Linked DNA regions of Homo sapiens: all the other regions are linked to region 1. The links are contacts of gene promoters, found by promoter capture Hi-C in human tissues and cell types (Jung and others, 2019). All regions are on one chromosome and are shown on one strand. Each heading gives the region's core, a stretch centred on a gene start or on the middle of the fragment in contact. The rest is flanking DNA. Distances are from core to core; before and after follow the strand shown.

What was found. The method cuts DNA at HindIII sites, captures the fragments that hold promoters and counts their contacts. A contact is called where the count stands out against the background at its distance.
Region 2: a contact is called between a fragment that was not itself captured here and the fragment with the promoter of KCNK9 in region 1, in 3 of the 25 tissues and cell types used here (adrenal gland, bladder and spleen).
Region 3: a contact is called between a fragment that was not itself captured here and the fragment with the promoter of KCNK9 in region 1, in 3 of the 25 tissues and cell types used here (IMR-90 fibroblasts, dorsolateral prefrontal cortex and mesendoderm cells).

Annotation. Positions count from the first base shown.
Region 1 is chr8:139,701,155-139,705,059 of GRCh38, forward strand. It overlaps KCNK9 (potassium two pore domain channel subfamily K member 9), which reads right to left and starts at 1,969. Exons shown (of 2, transcript NM_001282534.2): 1 at 1,556-1,969. The coding sequence starts at 1,838. RefSeq lists a silencer at 1,692-1,986. The HindIII fragment of the contact is 18,854 bases long and covers 1-3,905 here.
Region 2 is chr8:139,953,169-139,957,073 of GRCh38, forward strand. The region is part of intron 19 of TRAPPC9 (trafficking protein particle complex subunit 9); the gene reads right to left. Among named protein-coding and RNA genes, the nearest start is that of C8orf17, 24 kb to the left of the region's middle. RefSeq lists a silencer at 96-262. The HindIII fragment of the contact is 4,280 bases long and covers 1-3,905 here.
Region 3 is chr8:139,833,956-139,837,860 of GRCh38, forward strand. The region is part of intron 21 of TRAPPC9 (trafficking protein particle complex subunit 9); the gene reads right to left. Among named protein-coding and RNA genes, the nearest start is that of C8orf17, 96 kb to the right of the region's middle. The HindIII fragment of the contact is 8,586 bases long and covers 1-3,905 here.

The DNA of each region.
Region 1 (3,905 bases), core at 719-3,218:
AGAGAAAATGGCAATGACTGGCCCTCTCAGAAGCTGGAAACACAGTGTGGGAAGGGAAGGAGTCATCTGTGTTTGGGGTGCTGGGCAAAGGGCGTGGGGCAAGCAAGAGCCAAGCTGATTATGTAGATAACAGAAGGACAATTTCCTTCACAAACAGAAAAACCTGCACCAATGAATTAAACATTTAAAACAAGATGACTCTCTAAAAAGTATTTTCAACCAAGAAGGAAAGACAGGCCGTCCTGTGCTGGCGCTTCCTGTTGCATATGGCACTGAGAAATCCTTTTTTTTTCAGTATGCAGAGATTTCCAGACAAAGAAAAATATCAAGAGGGAAATTAGAGGAGGAGGTCCAGAGAAGCGAGACAGGAGGAGCTGGGAAGAAGGGAGGGGGGAAGGAGGAGGTCCCTGCCCAGGGCACAGGGGTGTGAAGCCCTGAGGGGTGCAGGAAACAGACCACCCCCACTAACACACTGGCCTTGGCAAGTCCAAGGAGATGGCCCTAGAGAGGCAGCCTGCCTCACTGGGGCAAGTGAACCACAGAGACACCACCCTGCCTCCTGCCATGCAGGGTATCCACCACGTCCACCCGAATGAAGGTACCTGCCCCAGCTCCCACAGGTCTCCAAGTATAACGTCCGGGAGTCCTCCCAGCCCCCAGCCTTAGAGGGGACACTGCCCTCGGGACCGACCAGAGACCCTGCTCTGTGAATAGCGCCCTTGGCAGTGGGGCTGGCGGGCATCCCTGCAGTTTACCAGCTGGACCCCCTCTCGTGACTGGGGCTCAAGTTCCCTGGTTTCTGGGCAATGTCTAGACTGGCCTTTCCCAGTGTCACAGCCTAGGGAGTGGGCAGGTTCTGCCCTGCCCCCACTCTCCACCTCTACTGAGAGCAATTGAGGGGCTGCCACCCCCAACGCAAGCACCAGAGAGCAAACTCTCTCCTCCCAGGGGCCTGGGAAGTCCAAGCTCCAGAACTGGAACTCAGGGGAAAAAAGGAGCCGGGCGGGGGGAAGAGAGATGAAATCTGAGCTCAGAGAAGCCTGGAGCGGGGCCCAGGGGCTACGGAGGGTCAGTGCCTCTCACGCCCCAGGCGCACTCCCCTGCCACCTGAGTCCCTCTAGGAGCCATGGGTGCCAGGCCAGCCCTCTCCAACTCCCAGAGAGGTAGTAAGTGTAAGGCTCAGAGCCCCGCGCAGCCCAGCCCGCGCCGGGGCGGTGGGTGGGTGGGTGTCTGCTATGGGATTATTCTTAGCGCTCCACTCTCTTCGCAAAAGTGGCGCCTCCGCCCTCCCGGCTCAGGCACACTCGCTCGGGGCTCGCACGCCCGGCCCAGACACCAGCGCGGTGGAGAGCACCGGGTGGGGTCCCCGAAGGGTGAGGCTCGGAGGCGCCGCGGAGGGGGGGCTCCCTAGAGAGGAGGGGGCGCTGCGGGAAGGCCCCCAAGGGAGGCTGCGTTTAACCCTCGACGCCCTGCACCCAGCCCGGCGCGGCGCGCTCAGCCGCCTCCCCGGACTCCTCCCGGGGCGCGGGAGCCCAGCGGCGCGCCCAGCCCTTACCTATGGTGGTGATGACCGTGATCGCAAAGTAGAAGGAGCCGGCGAATTTCCACTGGACGCCGGCGCGGTGCGGTTCCGACTGCAGGATCACCAGCTCCAGCTGCCGGTAGTCCTCGCTGCTGATGTTGTACTTCCCCTTGATCCGGATCTCCTCGGCTTTGAGTTTCTCCTCCTCGCGCATCTCGTGGTCCGACTCGAGGGCGTCGAACACGGCGGCGCCCACCAGCAGGTAGGTGAAGGTGCAGACGATGAGGGACAGAGTCCGCACGTTCTGCCTCTTCATGGCCGCCAGCAAGGAGCCGGCGCGGGGGGCATGTCCCGCAGGCTCACAGCCGCGCGCGTCCCACTGCAGCGCCCGGCGGCCGCCGCCGCCTCCTCCTCCGCCGCCGCCGCCGCCGCCTCCAAGTTGTAAGCGGCGGCGGCAGCAGCAGCAGCAGCAGCGGGGAGGCGGGGGGCGGGGAGGCTGGGGGGGGCCCCCTCCGCTGGGGCCGCCACAGCCACCGCCACCGCGAGGCGGCTGGCGGGGCAGGGGCGGCGCGGGCCCGGGCTCAGCCGAGAAGGCGGACAGGCACAGGAGGCTGCTCGAGCGCCGGGGCCAGGCGTCCGGGAACCCCGACACCCTGCGCCAGACCCGGCCGAAGCAGCCCGCCCCACTGCGCAGGGCCATGCAGGGCGGCCCCGCTGGGTACCGCGCGGGCCTTGCTGCCCTCCGCACCCCGCCCCCCGCTCCCGCGGGAAACGCAGGGACGGGAACCGGAGCCAGAAAGCGGCCGGAGGGCGGCCGCGGGGCCCGGTACCCCTGTGGGTCCAGCTCGCGGGTGGCGGTGCCCAGCAAGGAGCCTGCAGGTCCGCGCGCCCAGCGGAACCTGCTTCCCCTTTTACCCCTCCTCGCCCCCTCTCGGTGGTGGGGAGGAAAAGTTTGCGAAGTGGCGGTGTCTCTGGAGTCCCCTGCAAGCGGGGAGGGGGCCGAGCAGGTGCAGCGGGAGGGGCAGCCCGCTCCCCAAAGGTCCGCGCGCCCAGCGCCCACCCGGGCGCGCGGGTGCGCAGCGGGGTCCCCGCCGGGCGTCGGCCGGTGCGCGAAGTTTGCTCGGCTCAACCCCCAAGGCGCGGGAGCGGGGCGCGGCCCCAGGACGGCAGGGACCGCGATGGAGCGGCTTCGGGGGCGGCCGGGGGACGGCGCGGTGGCGGTCGGCCAGCCCGCTCCTCCGGGGGCGGCGGGCGCGGCGGCGGCGGCGGGAGGGGTCCCGCGGGCCTCGCGGAGCAGCGGGGCGGACGCGGGCGCATGAGCCGCGCGGGGGTCGGGGCCCTCCGGCGTCCGGGCGTCCCGGGAGGCGGCCGCCGCGCTGGTCTGCCCCGGGCGCTACGTGCGTGCGCGCCGTTGGGAGCCCGAATGTGTGTGTGCGCGTGTGTATGTGCGTGTGTGTGTGTGTGTGTGTGTGCGCTTGGCAGCCCCGCTCCGGCGGGAGGGCCTCGGGGAGCGGGGGCCGGGCTACGCCGAGGCCGGGCCTCCCTCCCTCCCTCCCTCCCGCAGCCTCCAGGGCGCGCCACCTCCCGCCTGGTCCCCAGCCAGCTGGCGAGGCTGCTGTGGCAGCTCCCGCTGCAGACCCAGCGCGGCGCAGGGCGCACGCGGAGGGAGCCCGGGAGGGGCGGCCTGAGCCGCCAGGGAGGGGGCGGGGGCGGAGCCGCCGGCGGGTTTTGGCGGGGGATGGGAGGATAAACGCGGCTTCTTGGGTCCTTCTAGCCCCGCTCCCCAAGAGCGCAAGCAGCCCTGGCGGGTGGAGAGTTTGAGGGACTCGGGGTTGGAGGAGGAAAACGGGATTCAGCCAGAGATGGCAGGCTGACAGCTTCAGGCAGATTGGGCAGAGAGTGGGGAGCAGAAGGGGAGGGGGCCATGGGCACACAGGAGAGCGGCAGCAGCGGTTCACGAAGTCTTCCCCACCCCCCACCCCCCACCTAGCCACCCGGCGCGGGAGCGTGTCATTGGCCAGGGACATGGCCTCGTGGAGTGGTGGGGTCCCGAGGGCTGCCTCGGCCCCCTCGCCTCCCAGCGGCACAGCCCGCTTGGGCCAGCACCTGCAGACCCGAGTCGTTTCCCTGGAGAGCGCTAAGGACAGCATGGGCCGCCACTTTTGGAGTCAGGACAGCGGGGAAAGACATCGCAATCCCCCGACCCAGTAACCTCTCTGTTGCTTTACTGAAGGAAAAAAAAAAAATACACACACACACACACACACACACACACACACACACACACACACATATATATATATATATATATATATATAATCACTCTTTGATATATATAATCACTCTTTGGTTCCCCACAGCTGGGCGCAAGGTGCGCCGTGGA
Region 2 (3,905 bases), core at 843-3,342, 250 kb after region 1:
TAAGATACGTAAAACCTACAACTATAAAACTTGTAAAAGTAGGCCAGGAGTTGCGGCTCACGCCTGTAATCCCAGCACTTTGGGAGGCCGAGGCAGGTGGATCACTTGAGGTCAAGGAGTTGAAGACCAGCCTGGTCAACATGCTGACACACTGTCTCTACTAAAAATGCAAAAATCAGCCAGGCATGGGGGCGCACACCTATAATCTCAGCTACTCAGGAGGCTGAGGCAAGAGAATCGCTTGAACCCAGGAGGCAGAGTTGCAGTGAGCCGAGATCGTGCCACTGCACTCCAGCCTGGGTGACAGAGCAAGACTCTGTCTCAAAAAAAATGTGTAGAAGTAAACATTAAAGGAAAAAATTTCCTAGAAAAGACATAGAAGACATGACTCCAAACTGATAATTGGACTTCATCAAAATTAAAAACTTCTCTGAGTGACGCTTGAAAAGATAAACTAGATTGAAAGTAAATACTTGCAAATCATAAATCTGATTAACAGCCTGTATCTAGAGTATGTGACGATCTCAAAATGCAAGAGTGACAAAACAAACAGCCCAACTTTATTTAAATAAAGGGCCTGAACACATACTTCACCAACAAAATCTACAGACGGCAAGCAGACATATAAAAATGCTTCATATGATAAAAATATATCACTATATACAATGATATCTACTCATGATCAGGGAAATTCAAATTAAAACCATAATGATATGCCACTACACATCTGTTAGAATGGCTAAAATGAAAAAGACTGACCACATCCAATGCTGCAGACGATGTAGAGAACCACTGATACACTGAACAGTGTGGACAGACCTCAAAATAATTATCCTGAGTGAAAGAAGCCAGATCAAAGAGGAATAGTACTGTATGATCCATCCCCATATTAATAGAACTCTAGAAAGTGCAAAGTTATCTGCAGCGACAGGGAGTAGATTGGATTGGTGGTTACCTGGGGACTGCGCCAGGGGTAGGGAGCGATGATGAGGGCACAGGGAAGCTTTTGGGGGTGATGAATATGCTCACTGTCCAGATTGTAGCAATGGTTTCTTGGGTGTAAACAGATGCCCCAAATGATCACAGTGTACACTTCCGTATGTGTAGTTTTTAGTATGTCAATTTTACCTCAAAAAAGCAGTTGTGATGGACTGAGTGACTGCGTCCCCCAGTAATTCATATGTTGTACGCTTCCCCTCAAAGTGACGGTATTAGGAGGTAAAGCCTTTAGGAGGTAACTATGGTTACGTGTGATCATAAGGGTGGGCCCTCAGGATTGGATTAGTGTCCTTATAAGAAGAGATGCCAGACAGCTTGCCTCTAGACCTGTGAGAAATAACTGTATGCAGTTTAAGCCACCCACCCAGTCTGTGGTACTTTGTTACGGCAGCCCCAGCAGACCAAGCTTTTAAAAATCAATATAAGCATATTCTAAATCATCTAAATGGCCATTTGTAAGAAGAAGCTGCGAGGTAATCTCAGGACCTGTGTTTGCGTTTGTGTCTTTGGCTGCTTGTGCAAGTGTTATTACCTTCACTGCCACCAGCTAACAATAAGGAACAAAGGTAGAGGTGCTCACGCCACTTGACACTCAAGTGACATCACAGCGTGTCAGTGAAGATTTGCCCTGGTTTGAATAAAGGCCAATGTTGAGAATACAGATCCACTCCATTGTATACACAGGCATGTTAAAATAAAAGGAGCCAGCTCTGCAGCTGTCCATATACGTTCACAATTCTACTGGCAATTTAGTTGTACCAAAACATCTCATCAAGTTAATCTGGTAATTTTATTTGTATTGGTCTTACAATTTGGCATGTATATAATTTGGAAAAGCGGTTTCACAGATTTAAGTATTATAAGCATAAGGATTCTGTATTTAATTTTATGTTGATGCATATTTAATGTTTTTATTATAGTACTGGTTACATAAATGGTAGGGATCAAGCACATTTTTTCTTGTGAAAGGGGTCGGATTTCAAAGCCTCTGCCACCAGCTGCACCAGCCATCGGCACCATCTGACCACCTCCTACCCTCACCTCCCCGTTTCTGGTAACAGTGATGAAGGAATGATCAGGGCCAGAAGGGATCCTGTAGGAGCCTCATGTAGGTCTTGTTCACTGGGTTCTTGAGGTTCAGTTCAGGAGCCTGATCATCTCCGTGTGGGTTCTTTGCATGCTGTGACACACAGCACCAGCCGCACACACTGCAAAAAAACCCTGGACGGACCCAGGGGCTCCTCCGAGATGGATCCAAGAGCAAACTTGGTTTCAAGCGCCCACGTTCAGCATCAACACGTGAAGCAAATACAACATTAAACAGCTCCTACTTATCAAAACTGAGAAAGGCTCCAACCCCACTGATGCAAATGCTCTAAGACAGGAAGGGATTTAGGCTCCCTCCCAGGCAGCCAGTCCAGAAACAGGCAATGCAGGATTCCTCGAGAACTGCACAATTGGAAGGAGATGAAAAGTATCTAACTGGAAAACAACAACAACAGCAAAAGTGGGAATGTGGGTCAGGACTACTGGAAATAGGAAATCCACCTTTTTCAGCCAGCTACCGACCAGACTCACCCCCAGTCTGAGTTTCCTGTTCGTGAGGGCTGTGCTAACATTCTGTGTCCACTAACGTCGAGGAATCCTCAAATAGGTCCCAGGGGCTTCTTTCCAAGAGAAACTGAAAGCTCTGCAGCGCTTCTGTGATGCCTGGTGTGGTCTGCCTTGCTGCCATCCAGCATGACTGCCCCAGTGCCCCGCCCTCCCTCATGCTCAACTATGGATGCATCTTGGCCCTCAAGACTGTGTCTGGGTCCTCGTTTCTCCCGCCGTGTGGCTGGAAGGGAGGCAGCTGGTTAGCACGCGGAGACCTGACGAGAGTGTGGCTGTGCCTAGAACCAGCTCCGATGCTCCTCGTTCGAAACACCCACCCCTGTGTGCACAGCACCTTGTTCTTTCGTGCATTTCACCCTACATGGGATGTTGTTTCGTTTTTTTTTTTCTTTTATTTTGAGATGGAGTCTCACACTGTCGCCTGGGCTGGAGTGCAGTGGTGTGATCTCGGCTCACTGCAACCTCTGCCCCCCGGATTCAAGCAATTCTCCTGACTCAGCCTCCTGAGTAGCTGGGATTACAGGCACCCACCACCACGCCCAGATAATTTTTTGTATTTTTAGTAGAGACGGGGTTTCACTATGTTTGCCACGCTGGTCTCAAACTCTTGACCTTGTGATCCGCCCACCTCAACCTCCCAAAGTGCTGGGATTACAGGCGTGAGCCACCGCGCCCGGCCCATGGGATGTTGTTTCTGAGGCATGTGTCTCCATCAGCTGCCAGCATAGCGTCTCCTTGATGTTGGGCCTACGCCTGACCTATTTCTCCACCCTCCACCACGGTGTCTCGTACATGGCAAATGCCTCCTAGGAATTGTTTCCAATCAGGACAGGCCCTTCTGATTGACAAGAAACAAAGACCTGTGTGCCTGGAACAGCACTGCTCAGCTCAGCAGAGCCTGGCGCCTGTGGATGCAGAGGGGAAGCACTGGCCAGACTGCTTCCATCCCGGCTCCGCGTAGACTCGTTGTGCCACCCCGGGCAGGTCCTATGCCTCCTACTCCCCTATCCCTACAGAGTGGCCTCCCACACCCTGGAGGACAAGCACCTCCTTCAGGCCGTGCTGAGGGGTGAATTCTGTGGTAAAAACACCCAGCCACTCTCTCTCAGTTAACCCACAAATCTGATGGGATTTCAGGAGCTGAAGAGGGGATGGGATGTCAGTGAGGACACCGGATAAGGCCCTGAGGTGCTTGCTGCCTTCGAGCGGGAGGGACACGGCTTCAAAGGCCACTTCCTCAGAGACAGCAAAATCGCATTCCACACAGAGCGGGCCCCATGCTCTGAAAACAT
Region 3 (3,905 bases), core at 750-3,249, 130 kb after region 1:
AACGCAGGCTTTCCTGTGGCATGACCTGTGTGCAAATCGCTACCCAACCCCTACCAGCCACGTGGCTTTGGTAACCATGTGACACTGGGCAAGTCATGGAGCCCTGTGTGGGCCTCTGGAACGAAGCAGGGTGAGAAACTCCGGTGCATAGAGTTGTTGTAAGCCTGAGGTGAGGTTCTGTGTACCCAGCGCCCACCAGAGCCTGTCACAGTGGGAGCTGAGTCACAAGGGACTCTGCTTGCTGGTGGTGTGGTTAGTGCCACCTGCTAGGCTTGGCCAGGCAAGAACGTCAGTCAAGGTTAGGTATTCTTGCATGATGGTGCCTACACCAGCTGGCAGCAGAAACCTGACGCAACTCCATAGCTGCAAATGGAGATCCAGGGAAGGCTCCACGGACCATAGAGGGCTGTGTCGGGAGCAGTGAGTCTGACATTCCTAATGACCTAGGACAATGACGTGTGTGTTCACCACGTGACATGCACAACTGAGAGACAGAGCTGGCTTTCTGAGGAAGGGGGGCGGGCACAGCTGCAAGGCACGGGGGACCCCTCCACCGCCAGCAGGCAGGCGGAACGTGGCGTCTGGCGAATGGCAGGGAAGCCGCCCTCCATGACGCTGAGTCCTCAGGACCAGTGCACTAGTGGGGACGTTGTCGCCCCATCTCACAGCTGAGGGAGTTGAAGCCAGAGAGTGTGGCTTATCCATGGTCTACCAGGAGTACAGGCAGAGTAGCCTGAACTTGGAGTCCTGCCTGGCAGGCTGCAAAGCTCTTGGTATTTCCATCCCTCCTTGCCATGTCCAAGTTCACGAGAGGGATCTCACACCCGAGAGATACAGGCACTGTCATCATCAGGCGCATTTCAGGATGTAAACCGCAGCTCAGAAAACAAGTCATTTGCCCCAGTAGCGGGGCTGTTGCTGGGAGCCAGCTCTCCCAGGTTCTGAGTCCAATGTTTTCCCCACCACCCCGTGGCAGTCATTAAATAGGCGATTTCTATCCCACCTGTTGAGGATTTATTTCATGCCGGTGCTGACTCGCCTGGACAGGGAAGCCCAGATGCCAAAGGTGAAGATTTCAAAGGTGAAAGTGCCCCCCATGGAGTGGGCATCAGACTCGTTGGCAGGTTTCTGTTGACTGGGTTTTCGCTGTTAATGAATGCGACCTTGGGTGAATCACCTCTCCTCTTGGAGCCTTGGACTAGAGCACTGGTTTTTAAATAGGGGAGTTGGAGGCAATAGGGGTGAAAGCACCCTCAAATCCTCCCCCATCTGACCAGCTCCTCTGACCTCCTCACCCACTTCGAGCAGAACAGAGATGCTTTTTATGTGTTTTACATACTGCGTTGTGCACACATTGCCTTTGATTAATAAATTTCTGAAGTCACTGAGCCAAGGAACCTGGCAGGTCCTCCGGGGCTCCGCTGCTCTGCGACTCTGCAGCAAGCATCCTCGCCGCCGTCCAGCCTTCCCTCCTGCGCCCCATTGTGTCACTGTGATGGCGCGCACGTTCGCCCGTGCTGTGCGTGGATGCACGGATGGATGTCTAATATCTATTCATCTAGGTATCTATTTTTGTATCCACGAGACATCCTCACTAATAAACCTGGGGACAGTGGGGAAAGCAGCAAGAAAGGCCAATCAGTGCTGCTGCTGTAAAGCGATCAAGTCCCAAAGGACAGCAGACAAGAGACACTGCTGCCAAATCTGCTTTCTTTAATTAAGGCGGAGATTGATAAGAGCTGTCAGAGTGAAATGAAGAGACTCCAGGCCTCACTGCTTTGCCAAGACATGAGAGGGAAAGCTGAAGATTAAAAAACAAAAAAAAAAAAAGCTTCCCTAGAAAGCCCACAGAATCCGTTACAAAAAGGATGAGGCTCCGAGGACGGCAGAGAGTGCAAGAATCACCACCCCAATCAGCAGTGGAGGATGTGGCCTGAGCTTGCCAGCTGTTTGGACAGGTTATATATATCTATATCTACCTACCCATCTATCTATCATAAATGCTATTTTCCACCAAGGAAAGCTGGGTGTAGCACAAAGGGAAGCATTTATTTATTTATTTATTTTTTTTGAGACAGAGTCTCACTCCGTCGCCCAGGCTGGAGCGCAGTGGTACCATTTCAGCGCAGCGCAGCCTCCACTTCCCAGGTTCAGGTGATTCTCCCTCCTCAGCCTCCTGAGTAGCTGGAATTACAGGCACCCACCGCCACACCTGGCTAATTTTTATATTTTTAGTAGAGACGGGGTTTCATCACGTTGGCCAAGCTGGTCTCGAATTCCTGACCTCAGGTGATCCACCCACCTTGGCCTCCCAAAGTGCTGGGTTACAGGCGTGAGCCACCACACCCCAGTAAAGGGAAGCAGTTCTGAAAGAAGAACCAGCTCTCCATCTCAGACCCCGGAGCGGGACCGATCCTGGTTCTGACCCTGCGCCCGGCACTCGATGTGTGTGTTTCCTGCAATTCTCCCCAGGGGCAAGTGCATGGGAAGCCGCTGGGGGGACCTGGAGGAGAAAGAGCTTCCATGAGCAAGCTCAAGGTTCGGGAGGGAGGTAGGGCCCAGCCCAGGCCTGCATGAAGCCCAACTGCTCCCCTGCAGCAATGCAGATGCTGCCGCCACACGGGGCAACTGAGGGAGACTGAAAACTCACACGATTCATCCCAAGTCCAAAAAGAACTGAAGAGAGATGGGCGTGGCTTCCCGAGAGTCATTTGGGACATTCTGTGGAATTCCCAGGAGCAGACACCAAGGCTCCACAAAATCTCAGCATGCATGCAATTAGTCATGGGAAGAAACAGTGCTCTTTCAGGAGGATGCTTCTAATTGGAGATACTTCATTCTGTAAGCTAAAAAATAGGATCTTTATAAACCCTCGATGTTTGCCATCATTGCCAGAAACAATGAGATACGATGGTACCCCATCACCTCCAGGGAGGTCAGAAAGGCTTGATGTGAACGGCTCCTTCTGTCTCTGTGGGTTTGTCGTTGTTGTTGTTAAAAAAGGAAATGACAAGGAGGACTTGGGGCCTAGCGATCTGGGTTCAAGTCCTGCTTGCTTGTGAGACCTGGAACAAGGAACAGGACCTGTACAGGTGACAGTTAGGTTTTAATAGTCTATGCACCGGTGGTGTTAGTTCAGGGAACAAACCAGGAAGTGAACAGAGAAACCCTCGGTAAACTTCAAAGCTCAAGATAATACATCTGCAAAGCCTAGAAAGGCTGGACTACGGTTCTTACCATCACCGTGACACACATGCAAGAGCCCTCCTGCTGCCGCTGTTCACGCCAGCTGGGGGACGTGCTTCACTCTGTGACACCCTGTCGAGGCAGCACGGTAACCAGAGGCACCACCCCCAGTGCACAGCTGCCACGGGGCAGGGTCTTCCGGCTCCCACCTGACAGCCCACCACAGCCCCCAACGGCACTTCAAAAAGGCCCCTGTCCTCCCATAGCCATCTGTCCAAGGCAAAGCTAGCAACTGGATGGGACCAAAGAGGAACTCTGAGGGGTACTTCTTGCCATGGCAGGAACTCAACAACACGCTCCCCCACCAGCCCCCTGAAGGCTCACGTGCCCAGGGAGGGCCTTGCCTGCACTGCCTCGGTCTGCTCTCACTGGGTGGCCTCGCAGAGACCCATGGAGTGGGACTGGCCCCCTGAAGGCAGGCCTGTCTCCAGCCCAAGGCGTTTCTGAGCTGCTGAGTCCTAGCTCTGTCCACGCACATCTTTGGCACACCCACGTGGCTGTCCCCTGCCATTTCCCCACACCCCTGGTCTCTCGTCCTTCCAGGCACCCAACCCAGATGCCAGGAGCCCCTCGGCCCTCCTCTGTGCTCCCCGCTTCTCACTTGCCACCGAGATTCTCCTTCCAGAGTCCATCCAGTCGGCCCATGTCTGTCTGTCCAC